Regions from separate parts of the Homo sapiens genome. Here region 1 is linked to region 2. The links are contacts of gene promoters, found by promoter capture Hi-C in blood cells and fetal thymus (Javierre and others, 2016). All regions are on one chromosome and are shown on one strand. The core of a region is centred on a gene start or on the middle of the fragment in contact, and the rest is flanking DNA. Distances in the headings are between cores, read along the strand shown. Region 1 has its middle 13 kb from the start of ANKRD28. Region 2 holds the start of HACL1 (2-hydroxyacyl-CoA lyase 1).

Evidence for each region. Contacts are between HindIII fragments. The CHiCAGO score rates a contact against its expected background, and 5 or more counts as called.
Region 1: a fragment that was not itself captured here is called in contact with the fragment with the promoter of HACL1 in region 2 in 1 of 17 cell types (monocytes); the score reaches 6.1 in monocytes.

Annotation. Positions count from the first base shown.
Region 1 is chr3:15,809,331-15,812,624 of GRCh38, forward strand. It overlaps a transcript of ANKRD28 not described here. Among named protein-coding and RNA genes, the nearest start is that of ANKRD28, 13 kb to the left of the region's middle. The HindIII fragment of the contact is 4,948 bases long and covers 1-3,294 here.
Region 2 is chr3:15,600,023-15,603,213 of GRCh38, forward strand. HACL1 (2-hydroxyacyl-CoA lyase 1) reads right to left here and starts at 1,547. Exons shown (of 17, transcript NM_012260.4): 1 at 1,361-1,547; 2 at 1,068-1,172. The coding sequence starts at 1,441. It overlaps BTD (biotinidase), which reads left to right and starts at 1,723. Exons shown (of 4, transcript NM_001370658.1): 1 at 1,723-1,872. RefSeq lists an enhancer at 1,452-2,094 and a silencer at 1,936-1,995. The HindIII fragment of the contact is 4,903 bases long and covers 1-3,191 here.

The DNA of each region.
Region 1 (3,294 bases), core at 616-3,115, 210 kb after region 2:
TATACATCCTTGTAACAGACACAGGTACTTTCACACAGATCCTTTCCTTTAAGGAGAGTCTCTGGTCCTGAGACATACAAGAAACCCAAGCCTGACCAGAGTACTACCCACCCCTAACAACATGTCTCGTTCAGGAAAGAGCACATGACTGAAACTAGACAATGTCTTCCTCAGGACTTCACTTTCCTGCCAAGGCTATCAGAGAAAAATACTCTCTTTTCTTTCGGGATTGTGAGGACACAATCCCAGTAAGCAAAAACTGCTCATAGGAGGAATGAAAGAATGGGGGAGGATGGGAAACCCACTGTCACCAAGTCCTGGATCTAGCTCTGCTTGCCTGGCCAGTAAATATACTTTTGCATTTAAGCCAATTTGAGTTGGATTTCTGTCATTTGTAACCAAAAGTCCTGATTAACAATTATCTACACCACCAGTTACTTTTCTAAATCATAGATAAAATGTTGTCTACTTTTATTTAGTCAACTATTTTGTTTGAGTATGCTATACTAAAGACTTCCAGCAGCCTGCCTTTAAGTTTCACATATATCAATGTGCTTGTTGCAATTCAAGTATACCATGCCACTACATGCAGCTATGCCCTTGCAGATGCTGTTTCCTCTGCCTAGCACATCCCCCTCCCACCTCCTCATCCACAAAATGTATAGGTTTGCATAAAATAAGGTGGAAAATTAGACAGCAGCGAGATCATGAAGGGTGTTGAATGACACCGAGTAAATACACTTTAACCTATAGAATTTTAAGGCAAAAAGTTATAAAATAAGACTTGTATCTTAAAGAACTTACTGTGCATACAGTGTCAGGATGACCTAAAAATAAGGTGATACTAAAGGCAGAGAAAACAGTCAGTAGGCTATCACAATTAGTTTAAACCAGAGGCCATGTAGGATGGTGAAACAGTAAACTGGGACAACTTCTCTGGGAGAAAAAAAAAAAACTTGCCAACAGCTATCAATACCATTGATAAGTATTTCAAACTTTAAGCTAGCATTTCTACTTGTAGGAACTGAGACATAAGAAAATAATGTGAGGCCTATAAAAATTTACATATCAAGATTTCAGTGAAGCATTATTTACAACAAAAGACTGAAAATTTAAATGCTGAACAATAAAATGATTTAAAATACAGTATATATCACACAGTGAAACTATATCTAATATTTAAAAATAAAATCTTTAAAGAATTTCTAAAACATGGGATATACTAAAAAATATTATATGGAATACAACACTGCAGTATAAACAAAATAATCTTAATTACGTTAAATAGAAGACTTTTTTTCTTTTTCATTTTTAGCATCAACACTACATGAGTTAGGTCAGTGGCAGGATTATGAGTAATTTGTTCTCTCCTTTTTTTTTTTTTTCCCCTAAGTAACATTGTCCTTAGCCATGATCCTTATTTGCTAAACAAAATCACAACTTTATAGGTAAGAAAAATAAGGCCTAGAGTGGTTACATGACAAAGTTCACATTCTAAGAGTTAAGACCACAACTTGAACACTGCCTATGTGAAGACTCACTGCCAAGAAGCAAACCTGCAAAGCCAGTCATTTAACCCATAACTCCTGTAAGCCTGAGACTCAAAGGCAAACCAAGCCTACTGTGAGTGACTTTAAACTTGCTGACCTACAATCCCCTATAAATTCATAACTCAAAAGCTATAAAATAGCAAATGAAGAGCAGACTACAGAACAGGGTAGTTTAAGATGCTTGTTTTTATGACTTTATTTTTTATCTAAATAACCCTACAAAGAACAGAAAAGGAAATAACAGCACACCAGACTGGAGAAACAAGGCCTCAGAGTAAGTTGTTAAGGGACACTGTTATTCTAGAGTCTGTTTTATTTTGATCTTTAAAAGAATAAGAGAATGCTTTATTAGAAGAAATTATTTCCCTGAATTAAGATCTCCATAATCTGTTACAATCACAAATAGACTCTATAGACTTAAGTACTCAACTCATTTAAGTAGGGTAGCTAACAAAAAGTCATTTGGTAGCTAAAAAAGCAGAATTTGAAAATAGTATTTGTGAAATAAAAGGGCTTCAGTGAAAGGAGTCTGAACAGCTACTGGATAGGAGAAAAGACAAAATAATTACCAGGGACAATTTTTCTTTATTTTGAGATAGAGTCTTGCTCTGTTGCCCAGGCTGGAGTGCAGTGGCACAATCTCAGGTCACTGCAACCTCTGTCTCCTGGGTTCAAGCGATTCTCCTGCCTCAGCCTCCAGAGGAGCTGGGACTGCAGGTGCACGCCACCATGCCCAGCTAATTTTTGTATTTTTGGTAGAGACGGGGTTTCACCATGTTGGCCAGGATGGTCTTGATCTCTTGACCTCGTGATCCGCCCACCTTGGCCTCCCAAAGTACTGGGATTACAGGTGTGAGCCACTGCGCCTGGCCAGGGACAATTTTTTTAAAACCTTTATTTTAACCTTATAAATTAAGAAATTGTGGTTTTCTATAGATGCCATGTAAATGATAGTACCACCTAAAAAGTTAATACATTTAAAATGTTTCTAAGCCAGGCACAGTGGCTCACGCCTGTAATCCCAGCACTTTGGGAGGTCAAGGTGGGTGGATCACTTCAGTTAGGAGTTCAAGACCAGTCTGGCCAACACAGCAAAACCCTATCTTTACTAAAAATAGAAAAATTAGCCAGGCGTGGTGGTACGCACCTGTAGTCCCAGCTACTCAGGAGGCTGAGGTCGGAGAATCGCTTGAACCCAGGAGGCTGAGGTTGCAGTGAGCTGAGATTGAGGCACTGCACTCCAGCCTGGGCAACAGAGTGAGACTCTGGCAAACAAAACAAAACAAAACAAAACGAAACCCAAAACAACAATAAAATGTTTCTAAGATGATAATCAAAGATGGCATCATAGAGCTGGGCACAGCGGTGTACACCTGTAGTCCCAGCTACTTGGGAGGCTGAGATGGGAAACTATACCATTATCTTAATTTCATTTGTTTTTTAAATGAATTTTCAAATGGTGCCCTTAGGTAAATTTAGAAAGGGTTTGCAGTAACCAATGGAAAAGCACCATCCAGTGGTAAAAGATGATAATTACAATTTATACAGTTATTAAAAGCAAAATTAGCTAAATGATTTGTGACTCTGCCTTTTCTCCAACACACATTCCAGGAAAGAAAAGGTAAACTGGCTATATAATACTGAGGGTATCTGCTATTTGTTACCATTTTCTTAATCAAATTTTACTATATTAAGTTGGCATTTCGTTGTTGTTTTTCTGTCTTGCTTACCAATTATCCAAATG
Region 2 (3,191 bases), core at 297-2,796:
ACCTCCTAGTTTTAAGATTAAAAAATACAAATCTCAAACCTTGTAGATAAAGAATGTCATTCAATAAAGAATGTCATTCAATAAAGAATGTCATTCAATTAATAAATAATGTATAATATTAAGCATCTACACCACGTGAAAGCACAAACCAAGCCAGGCACTGTGGTGATATAACAAATGAATCACAACTTCTGCCCTCCAGGCACTCATGTATGATGGCAAAAGGCACCACTTAGGGTGGCCAGGCAGTTGTTTGGGCAAGAGGAGGCAAGAATTTAAATTAGAAGGCAACGGTGGGAGTGTAAAGCAGGAATATTTAGCCTCAGCTGGACTGAGAGTATGTGATATCACAGAAGTGGATTCTTGACCTTTCAAGCCCGCACTACTGAGAGAAGAGCAAGGTGGATTGGCAGAGGATGCACTTAAAGTGGATTGACAAAACGTCGTATCTTCCTTATCCTGCTTCCAAATAAGCCTCTAAGAAAGGTGGCAGCATGATGTGGTGGAAAAAGCATCAGGCTAGGATCTGAGCCATCTGAGTTTCCATCAAGGCACTACCATTTGTGATATCCTCCACCCTGCCCCGAACCAATCATACAACAAAGCCTTGGCCTTCACTCATTTATCCCACAGGTAATCTCTGAACACCTTTCTTATGCAGGCACCACACTAAGCACTGGGGGTACAGATGTGTCGTGAAGAAATAATATCCCTGCTCTAATGGAGCTTGTAGCCTAATAGGGAAGTCAGACTTTACTCATAAACTGTCCATTCCAATCATGACATACAGTATAGTAGTAAGAGAATGGACTCAGACCCAGAATACGTGGGTTCAAACCCTGGCTCTGCTACTACCAGCTGTGTCACCAAAGGCAAGTTTTACTTAACCTGTGTCTTTTCTCATCTGTCAACTTGGTGTAACAACAGTTAATATTCAACAGTGATTGATATGATATATGTAAAGTAGCAGAAGAGTGGTAAGCGCTATCTGGGTGTTTGCAATGCATACCTACCGCTATTACTGATCATTCCCAGTAACGCATTCAGCCACCTGAGTCCATACTCACCGCTTGCTCATTCCTCATCCCGATGTACTTGATGCCTAGCTGCTGGGCAGCAATGGCGATTTCGGTCACTGGGATGCCTACGATGCCAAATATGTACTCCACATCCTGAGGAACGAAGAACAGGGGAGTAAACTCCCAAGGCCCCACCATATCGCCACATCCTTCCCTCCCTCCCGGGCGCTAAAAGGAAAACCCCCCGACCCCCATCGCCCATTTCTACTCGTCTCCAAGACAACATCGCGGTCCCCGCCAGCTTCCGTAGGAGCCTTTCATTCCAGGAAGGTCCATCGTACTTGCGTTTTCAGGGCCTGAGCGATGACTTTAGCACCAGACACCTGCTCCTCGCTGCGCTCTGCGAAGTTACTGTCCGGCATCTTCCACCGAAAAGCTCTAAGCACTCACGCAGCCGGCAAACAAGCGGAATCATCCAGCAAGGCAAACGCGAAATCGGCAGCACGCCACCTCTGGTACTGCACCTCTGACGGACAGGAGGGCAACCAACTGCCTTAAACAACGGGAAGGAAGAGGCGGTCTAAATTCGTCCACTTCCCGGGAGAGGTGAGAATGTAAACACGCGCGTTCTCCAATCAGAACTGCGCTCTCTTCTCGGCTCCTCCATTCGCGCGCCAGAATGCCAGAGGGAGGCGGGACTAGCAGGAGATTGCTGCCTATGCAAAGCAGGTAAGAAGCCGAACTCTGAGGCCTCTCGCCATTGTCTCCGAGTCGGCCAGCTGGAGCGTTTTCGGGGCTGTAAAGGGAGAATGGCGCATGCGCATATTCAGGGCGGAAGGCGCGCTAAGAGCAGGTACGGAGGGGGCGTGGTGCGGCGCGGAGGGGGTGTGGTAAGGGCGTGCGGTCCAGACCCCGCCCCGGGCGCCCAGTTGGACTTGGGGAGGGCTGCGCAAAGGCTGCCGGGAGCTGGGAAGCCCGGCGCGCGTCGTTTGCTGGGGCTGTTTGTGCGTTGCTGCTGTGCTACCGCGTTGCGTTTTCTAGGCATTTACTTACACGCTTTGTGGTTTACGCTCTCATAACCTTGTGGTTTTATAGTCCTTAAATTATTGTAGCGCACGTTACTTAAATCCAGAAGCAGATGTGTACCCCAGCAAGAGATAAAATGACGCTCAGAGTCAGTAGATCCAGACCGTGCCTGAGATCCTGAATCCTGTTTCCTACCCACTATTCAGCCATTGGGTCACAAGCGATGAAAAGAGCACCTTGAAGGTAGTATAGAGCACTGTTTTCTCCAGCCCTTGCTACTAATCCATATTACTCTCCGCTAATATCTTTCCAAAATTAGGAACTATGGCGTTTCATAATTCTTAGGTTGGGTCCCTACCTACAACCAGCCCTGCACCCGATAGCCTTTTAAAACATTTTTGTGTGAAAATCGTTTGCAATGTGCAATATCTGAAACTACTGCCTTGGAGTCATTAGACCCTCTGCTCAGTGACAATAAACATAAAATTTCCAATTGTAATAAACAGTGGAACTTTTAATTTTTTGAGGATTTGGAGTCATTTTAAGCAAAAAGAACAGTGATAAGTGGACAGTAAAGAGATGAGAGGGGAGTGGGTCATGGGTAGTGAAATGAGTGAGAAGCACTGGAAGTGAAACGATTTCTAAACCCAGACATTTTCAAACTGTAGTCCTGGGTCTTTTCAAAAGGTCTTCCCCTCTTTTTCTCAACCCCTCAACCCCACCCCAAGCAGAGGAGAGTGAAGTGGTTGCCTCCCTGCATATGTGGACGGTGTTAGTCCATTTTCATACTGCTATAAAGAAATACCCAAAACTGGGTAATTTATAAAGAAAAAGAGGTTTAATGGTCTCACAGTTCCAAATGGCTACGGAGGCCTCACAATCATGGCAGAAGGTGAAGGAGGAGCAAAGGCATGTCTTACATGGTGGCAGGCAAGAGAGCGTGTGCAGGGGAACTGCCCTTTATAAAACCATCAGATCTCATGAGACTTACTATCATTAGAACAGCATGGGAAAAATCCCCTCCCCATGATTCAGTTACTTCCCACTGGGTCCCTCTCACCACATGTGGGGATTATGGGAGCTATAATTCAAGATGAGATTTGGATGAGGACACAGCCAAACTGTTCTGCCCCTGGCCCCTCCCAA